Linked DNA regions of Homo sapiens: region 2 is linked to region 1. Evidence: promoter capture Hi-C in 16 types of primary human blood cells and fetal thymus (Javierre and others, 2016). All regions are on one chromosome and are shown on one strand. Each heading gives the region's core, a stretch centred on a gene start or on the middle of the fragment in contact. The rest is flanking DNA. Distances are from core to core; before and after follow the strand shown. Region 1 has its middle 20 kb from the start of KRT18. Region 2 holds the start of KRT6B (keratin 6B).

Region 1 (4,233 bases), core at 1,144-3,643:
GGTTTGAAAGTATTAGATAAGGAATTGAACAATACTATAGAGCCTTTTAAGGGTGATTTTGTATTACTTGATAGGAGCTTGAAGAAGCCAGAGAACTTGTGTTGAAGGGCTGGGTTAGGGTGACAGAGGCCTGAAAGTGGTGGCAGATGAGTGACAGCTCCAGGGAACCCCAAGAAGGCTTTGATTTGACCACGGCTGTGACCATCCGGTCAACAGAAGTATGCCATAGTCCTGAGGTGCTCCTTGTGGCTGGGTCTGGTGCTAGACAGGGCTAAAGGCAGCACCAAAGTGGGCAGTAGGCCTTTGAGACCCCGACTGGACAGAGCCACACTCTTCAGGCAGGATGCTGTCTCCTTATCTAGGCTTGGGGTCTTGGGGCAGCCGGAGGGTTGGCATCCTTGATTATAGCCACAGGGATGAGACCTTTTTGTTTTGTGCTTTGGCTCAGCTCAGCCCCACTGCATGCCTGGCTGCTCCCACCAGCTCAAGATTATCTCTCTGGTGACGTGCTGCCTGGGGCTTGGCATGTACCCACCCCTGCGATCTTGCCCCTGCTGCAGCCAAGAGCAAAGTTTCAGTCTCTGGGACCCCAGCCAGACAACTCAAGGAGAGCCAATGAACTTGTATTTATGCAGTACCTACTAGCTGCCAGGCATGCAGCCAAGCCTTGGGGACTTTGTTCTCATTATTTTCTCACCTTTCCCACTGCACAAGTCTTAGCATCTCTCAGGTTTCACTTCTGCCACAAATCATGGCCATCATCCTCCCCGTGAACACCTGCAGCATTTACTGCCATGACATTCCTTGGCTTTGAATTAACCTCGTGACCTTTCTTGTATCTTTATGTTCTTAGGGCCGAACCTGAGGGTGGGGACCTGGGTCTAAGCTGTCCCACTGGTGGGCACCTTCCCTTCCTTTCCTGAACATTTTTGGAATGTAGGAGTGACCCCAGAGGAGGATTACAAAGCCCTTCTTCAAAGGAGAGGTTGAAAGTGGTGCCCGGGTTCTATAAACATTTGCACTGAGCATTCCTAAATGACAGGGAGATTTATAGTTTGAGTGCCTTCCCATTACGAAGACTGTTTAAGTGACTTGGGAAAGTTTCTTTAAAAAGAAAAAAAAATGGAGCAGATTAAGATGAGATTTTATTTTTCTTTTTTTCCTTAAAAAGAAAAAAAGGCTAGGCGAGGTGGCTCATGTCTGTAATCCAAAGGCTAGGTGAGGTGGCTCATGTCTGTAATCCCAGAACTTTGGGAGGCCGAGGTAGGTGGATCATTTGAGGTCAGGCGTTTGAGACCAGCTTGGCCAACGTGGTGAAATCCTTGTCTCTACTAAAAATACGAAAATTAGCTGGGCGTGGTGGTGCACACCTGTAATCCCAGCTACTGGAGAGGCTGAGGCGGGAGAATCGCTTGAATCTGGGAGGTGGAGGTTGCAGTGAGCTGAGAAGCCGAGACCACGCCACTACACTCCAGCCTGGGTGACAGAGTAAGACTCCGTCTCAAAAAAAAAAAAAAAAACAAATTCTTCCTGGGCTTTCTTAAAGCTGGGGTGTGTGTGAAGCGAAGCTGAGGAAGTTCAATTGTTCTCCCACTAAGTTCTCTTTCCTGGAACAAAGAGGACCTGCAAAGAGAGTGAGAGGACTGCTGGCATCTTGAAATATTCTTCTACTCTCCTTTGTCCTCTTTTCCTTGGGTGAGGCATGCAGAGACTCCTCTTGGTTTGTTATTTGCTCATTTATTTGTTCATTCATTTGCTTATTCATTCAAAAGCTAGTAAGAGAAGATTGTTAAATTTGAAAATTTTGCTTCCCAGAATTAAACCATTTTAAATCAACCATGACAGCAGTATTTATACCTTGGATATTGGCAAATGCTATAGGTTATTAAATAAAATAAAATAACATTTTATTTACAATTTAATAAAAATTACAATTTCAAATTTTTGTCTTTAAAAAAGAAAATAACAACCTGCTGTTTATGTGTTGGAATTGTGTTATGTATCAGGGCATAAGAGTGAACAAGATAGTCCAGTCTCTGCTCAAAGGGAGCTTACAGTCTGGTGCTGCACTGTCCTGTCCAATCTGGTAGCCATTAGCTACTAGCTACTGCTGTGGTTATTAATTTATTTTTTAAAGTTTTTAATTTTGGCTGAGTCTGGTGGCTCATGCCTGTAATCCCAGCGCTTTGGGAGGCCGAGGCAGGTGGATCACCTGAGGTTAGGAGTTCGAGACCAGTCTGGCCAACATGGCGAAACCCCGTCTCTACTCCAAATCCAAAAAAAAAAAAAAAAAAAAAAAATTAGCCAGGTGTGGTGGTGGGCGCCTGTAATCCCAACTACTCGGAAGACTGAGGCAGGAGAATCACTTGAACCTGGGAGGCGGAGGTTGCAGTGAGCCGAGATTGAGCCAGTGCACTCCAGCCTGGGCAACAAGAGTGAAACTCTGTCTCAAAAAAAAAAAAGTTTTTAATTTTTGTGGGTACCCAGTATGTGTATCTATTTTAGGGTACACGAGATATTTTGATACAGGCATACAATGCATAATAATCTCATCAGGGCATCCATCACTTCAAGCATTTATCCTTTATGTTACAAACAATCCAATTATACTCTTTTAGTTATTTTTAAATGTACAATAATTTATTTTTTTTGAGACGGAGTCTTGCTCCATTGCCCAGGCTGGAGTGCAATGGCATGATCTTGGCTCACTGCAACCTCTGCCTCTCGGGTTCAAGCAATTCCCCTGCCTCAGCCTCCCGAGTAGCTGGGATTACAGGCATGCACCACCATGCCTGGCTAATTTTTGTATTTTTAGTAGAGACGGGGTTTTACCATGTTGGTCAGGCACGTCTTGAACTCCTGTCCTTGTGATCTGCCCGCCTCAGCCTTCCAAAGTGCTGGGATTACAGGCATGAGCCACTGCACCCAGCCTTAGGCTGGTGCTTTTTAAACTTTTTTTGCTTCTGGGGAGTGGGTGATAGGGAAAGTTCTGCCAGCCTGGGAGGGGCCCACTAGAGCCTGCTGCTCCAGTGTGGATTGTGGGGAGAGGAAAAGGAACTGTGTGCTTTGGGCCCAGATCACTGGAGTGCCCTGAGTCTCTGAGAAGTTTACCCTACATCCCTCCTGTGGCAGCACCATCCACTTCACCAGGATCTGACCAGGGCCTTCAGGGGGACACAGCCTCCCCGGATCTGAGCATCACTATCATTCTAATTCCTTGGGCTGTTTCTGTGTAGATAATTATTTTCCAGCTCATTCAGGCAGGTGAGGTTGAGGCCAGCAGTGCAGCTAAATCCTTACACCGTGACTGGGGCTGCTTTTATACAGGTTAGGGGAAGAATAATCACTTATGGCTGAAATCTAATGGAAGAGGGAGTTCTGTGTAACTCTAGTGGGCAGAGCTGAGTTTAGAAGGTTAGTAGGAGGCAGATTTCAGCCCAGTAGAAGGAACAATAATGTTCCAGTAATTATACAATTATTATCCAACAGGGGCTATACTGTCATAAATTCTTCAAACGGAGGCCAGATGTTAGGAAGGCCACAAAGAGGATTCCTACTGGGAGAGGCCAAACTTGAACCATCTGTTTATTTATTTTATTTTATTTATTTATTTTTTTGAGAATGGAGTTTCACTCTTGTCACCCAGGCTGGAGTGCAATGGCACAAACTTGGCTCACTGCAACCTCCGCCTCCCGGGTTCAGGTGATTCTTTTGCCTCAGCCTCCCAAGTAGCTAGGATTACAGGCATGCACCACCACGCCTGGCTAATTTTGTATTTTTAGTAGAGACGGGGTTTCTCTATGTTGGTCAGGCTGGTCTCGAACTCTTGACCTCAGGTGATCCACCCACCTCGGCCTCCCAAAGTGCTGGGATCAGAGGTGTGAGCCACCACACCGAGCTGGTAAGTATATTTTTATTTTTATTACTATTTTTTTTGAGACAGAGTCTTGCTCTGTTGCCCAAGGCTGGAGTGCAATGGCAAGATTTCAGCTCACTGCAAACTCCGCCTCCCAGGTTCAAGCAATTCTTCTGCCTCAACCTCCCAAGTAGCTGGGAATACAGGCGCATGCCACCACGCCTGGCTATTTTTTTTTTTTTTTTGTATTTTTAGTAGAGACAGGGTTTCACCATATTGGCCAGGCTGGTCTTGAACTCGTGACCTCGTGATCCGCCCGCCTCAGCCTCCCAAAGTGTTGGGATTACAGGCGTGAGCCACCGCGCTGGGAGGTGTAT
Region 2 (4,233 bases), core at 448-2,947, 520 kb after region 1:
AGAAAAGAAAAAAGAAATGAAGCCCAAATTGAAAGCGGCATAAGGAGGAAAGACATTGGTAAACAGACAGTAATGGACATTTGGGAGAAATGTCCTCGAATAACTGGGAAAAGCAAACAGCTATGAAAAAGAGACTAGAGACTGTTAAAAAGAGAATCAGAAAACATAGATGTGGGAGACAAAGCAGACACAACACAATCACAATTGAAAAAGACAATATTTTTATGTTTTGTACATATGAATACATGAAATATTTTATATACATAAAACACACTCAAACACATACACACAAAACATTCATGTATTTATTTATATACCTTTCTACAATGCAGGCTCCCTCTCTATATATGCCAACTCCCTCCACCTCTTCCTCACCCATACAAACACACGTTGACACAAACACATATGCACAGACATGTCACCCATGGCCCAGGAAAAGCACAGGAAAATATCCAAGTAAAGATACAAGGATACACAAGGAACTGCTAACATTACTTCCTCCATAGATAGGAATTGGGTAACTGGGGAATGGCCTTGAGCTATATTATTTTGTTGTTTAGCATGTTTTACAAAAAATTTTTTAAAACATGTATCATGTATTCAATTTGTAAACATGTAAATAATTGTGCAAATAGTACTATTCAAAATTTAAATGGGCAATCTACTACATTTACTTCTAGAATGTTTAAATATAGACAGAATCTTAATAAGCTTCTAATTTTAATATGAAATATGAAGGTTAGAGTCTCATATTAAAGGAAACAATAGGGGTATGCAATTAGAAAAATCCCAAGAATGAAAAAGTACAATGAACAGTTAACCTGTTTTATTTAACAAATAAAAGTAAGAAATGAAGGGAGATTTTTAAATTTCAATGATTTAAAGGATATATCACTCAAATACAACGTTTATAGAGCTTATTTTGACTCTGATTGGGACACCAAAATATAAGAAATATATATCAAAAATAGGACTGCTTGAAGACTAAATAGACACTTGTTCATTTTAATTAGTATGTAAATTTTTAAGATATAAAAATAGTGTTTTGATTTTTTAAAGGACCTATTATTTAGATATTAATATTGAATTATTGATTGAAGACATAATATGACTTCTGGAATTTCCTTTCAAACAATCTAGAATGGAAGAGGAAATAGGGTTGAAGTATGAAAGAAATCAGGCTGGCCATGAGATGATCATCATGGAAGCAGGTGACAGGTATATACAGGCCCATTGCAGTGTTCTGCTTCTCTACCTGTTTAAAATTGCACCTAAAAGGTGAAACAATTATGGGGAAATTGTAATATTTCTGTTAAGGAATTCACAATACAGTGCCTGTGATCTCCAACAGCAAGGCTGGAAGAAAGTCAGACTGGGAAGAGGAGGGCACTCAGGGCATGTCGATAAACAGCCTAGCATGCAGAACCTTTGCTGAAGACAGTGACTAATTCCAACTTCATGAATTGAGAATACTCTTATTGTGCTGAGATCTCAAGTCAAAGCTGGAGGCAGGAACATTTTGCCTGACTAAAGGAAGCGAAAAATGCAATCTCGGTATTTCATAACTTTTGTAATAATGCAGGTGTGATCTCACTATTTGTAAAGCCCAGCCCTTCCCAACCTGCAAGCTCACCTTCCAGGACTGGGCCCAGCCCATGCTCTCCATATATAAGCTGCTACTGGAGTCCGATTCCTCGTCCTGCTTCTCCTCCCTCTCGCCTCCAGCCTCTCACACTCTCCTAAGCCCTCTCATCTCCTGGAACCATGGCCAGCACATCCACCACCATCAGGAGCCACAGCAGCAGCCGCCGGGGTTTCAGTGCCAACTCAGCCAGGCTCCCTGGGGTCAGCCGCTCTGGCTTCAGCAGCATCTCCGTGTCCCGCTCCAGGGGCAGTGGTGGCCTGGGTGGCGCATGTGGAGGAGCTGGCTTTGGCAGCCGCAGTCTGTATGGCCTGGGGGGCTCCAAGAGGATCTCCATTGGAGGGGGCAGCTGTGCCATCAGTGGCGGCTATGGCAGCAGAGCCGGAGGCAGCTATGGCTTTGGTGGCGCCGGGAGTGGATTTGGTTTCGGTGGTGGAGCCGGCATTGGCTTTGGTCTGGGTGGTGGAGCCGGCCTTGCTGGTGGCTTTGGGGGCCCTGGCTTCCCTGTGTGCCCCCCTGGAGGCATCCAAGAGGTCACTGTCAACCAGAGTCTCCTGACTCCCCTCAACCTGCAAATTGACCCCGCCATCCAGCGGGTGCGGGCCGAGGAGCGTGAGCAGATCAAGACCCTCAACAACAAGTTTGCCTCCTTCATCGACAAGGTGAGCCAGTGCCATGCCCTCCATCGGGCACTTCAGGGTCCCCAGACCAGAAGAGCAACACCTTCCTGCCGGAGAGACCCTAGGAGGGAGGGAGAAGGGGACTCAGCCCAGCTCTGCAGAGAGTGCAGGTGGCTCTCGGTGCACAGGAGGCAGCACAGATGGGCATCACTCCCCCATGGGATATCTGGAGTGGCCCTCACTCCTGCCTAGGGAGAGCCATAACTTTTCATAACCCTGAAGCACAGATGAGGCCATCAGAGAGTGGAGTAGGTTAATTCTCCCCTCTGAAGTGTTTAAGAGATTACAAAGCAAATGCCAGGAGTATATGGGCTGGTAAATTACACTCTGGGGTCTGGGTAAGAGGAAAAAGATTTAGAAAGAAAAGGAAAAGATAATCTGGCTGGATTAAGAAAAAAAGGGACATAGAAACAACTGTAAAACATGGATAAATGCTAATTAATTTTAAAAACAGAGAATGACCATAACATCAGAATATTTGAGAGGAGACACTAAATGGGAAAGTAGACTGAAATGTAATCATGAGTCAACATCTAATATCCCTCCTAACTAAGATCCTCTCGGTAAAAAAAACTGTGTACAATATATCAGGTAATTAGTATTTTTAAACTAGATTTGTGATTGTGCTTGGAAAAAGAAAAGAAGAAATGTTGAAACTCACTGATGATCAATAGCTTACAGTGCGAGAACACCTCAGTGGTCCGTGGGACAATTTCTCTAGTGAGACTGGTGGGGTGCAAAGGAGAAGGAGTTGGGGGAGCAGAGCTCAGCCTGAGCCTCTCTACATGCACTGTAGTAGCCCAGCACCATGGGGACCTCCCAGACCTCCAGGAAACTGGATACCAGACACTTTCTCTGCCTTCCTTTTCCTGGAAAATGACCATTTTGCTTCCCCTCCAGGTGCGGTTCCTAGAGCAGCAGAACAAGGTTCTGGACACCAAGTGGACCCTGCTGCAGGAGCAGGGCACCAAGACTGTGAGGCAGAACCTGGAGCCGTTGTTCGAGCAGTACATCAACAACCTCAGGAGGCAGCTGGACAACATCGTGGGGGAACGGGGTCGTCTGGACTCGGAGCTGAGAAACATGCAGGACCTGGTGGAGGACCTCAAGAACAAGTGAGGACTCCATTTCCTGCAGCACACACTTCAAGACTATTGGGTGACCAGGGCCAGATGTGTGTAGGATTCCTAACAACCCATGTCCATGGAAATGAAAAGCACAAATTAGTCCCTAGGAGCAAACCTGCAAGAACCACAGATGGTTATGGGAGGATGGGGAGATTAAAGAAATGGCAAATTTAGTAGTAGCAAAATTCATCTCTTTGGCTCTCTGTGGCAGGAAAGCTCAATTAGAATATATTCCATTCAGGAAAATGTTGAATCCCAAGCTGCTTTTCTGTTTCATCCTACCCACTGGCTCAAATGTGTCCCATGCCTTTCTTCCTGTAGATATGAGGATGAAATCAACAAGCGCACAGCAGCAGAGAATGAATTTGTGACTCTGAAGAAGGTGAGCAGATGAAGCCAGGGGTTCAAATTCATTTAGAAGGAGAGAAGTGGCTCTGTGTCCTCGCTCCCCTGGGAGAGGAGAATTGGCAGGAGGACTAGAAGATGGGTAGATTGGAAAGGTGAGCTCAGGCAACTCCAGGTTGTTGGCTCTTTCCCCAGGATGTGGATGCTGCCTACATGAACAAGGTTGAACTGCAAGCCAAGGCAGACACTCTTACAGATGAGATCAACTTCCTGAGAGCCTTGTATGATGCAGTAAGCAACTCCACCATCCTTCTGTTTACTCTGATGGGGTCTGCAAAGGGGAGAAGATGTACAGGGCTGGGCATCTCTGTAAATGTCAGAAGTGAAGTTGATCTTATGACCTTCTGTTCTGCAGGAGCTGTCCCAGATGCAGACCCAC

Evidence for each region. The method cuts DNA at HindIII sites, captures the fragments that hold promoters and counts their contacts. A CHiCAGO score of 5 or more calls a contact.
Region 2: a contact is called between the fragment with the promoter of KRT6B here and a fragment that was not itself captured in region 1, in 2 of 17 cell types (M2 macrophages and M0 macrophages). The highest score is 5.8, in M2 macrophages.

What each region holds. Positions count from the first base shown.
Region 1 is chr12:52,966,722-52,970,954 of GRCh38, reverse strand. No RefSeq gene overlaps it. Among named protein-coding and RNA genes, the nearest start is that of KRT18, 20 kb to the right of the region's middle. The HindIII fragment of the contact is 7,174 bases long and covers 1-4,233 here.
Region 2 is chr12:52,449,610-52,453,842 of GRCh38, reverse strand. KRT6B (keratin 6B) reads left to right here and starts at 1,697. Exons shown (of 9, transcript NM_005555.4): 1 at 1,697-2,304; 2 at 3,223-3,437; 3 at 3,771-3,831; 4 at 3,990-4,085; 5 at 4,210-4,233. The coding sequence starts at 1,765. The HindIII fragment of the contact is 8,192 bases long and covers 714-4,233 here.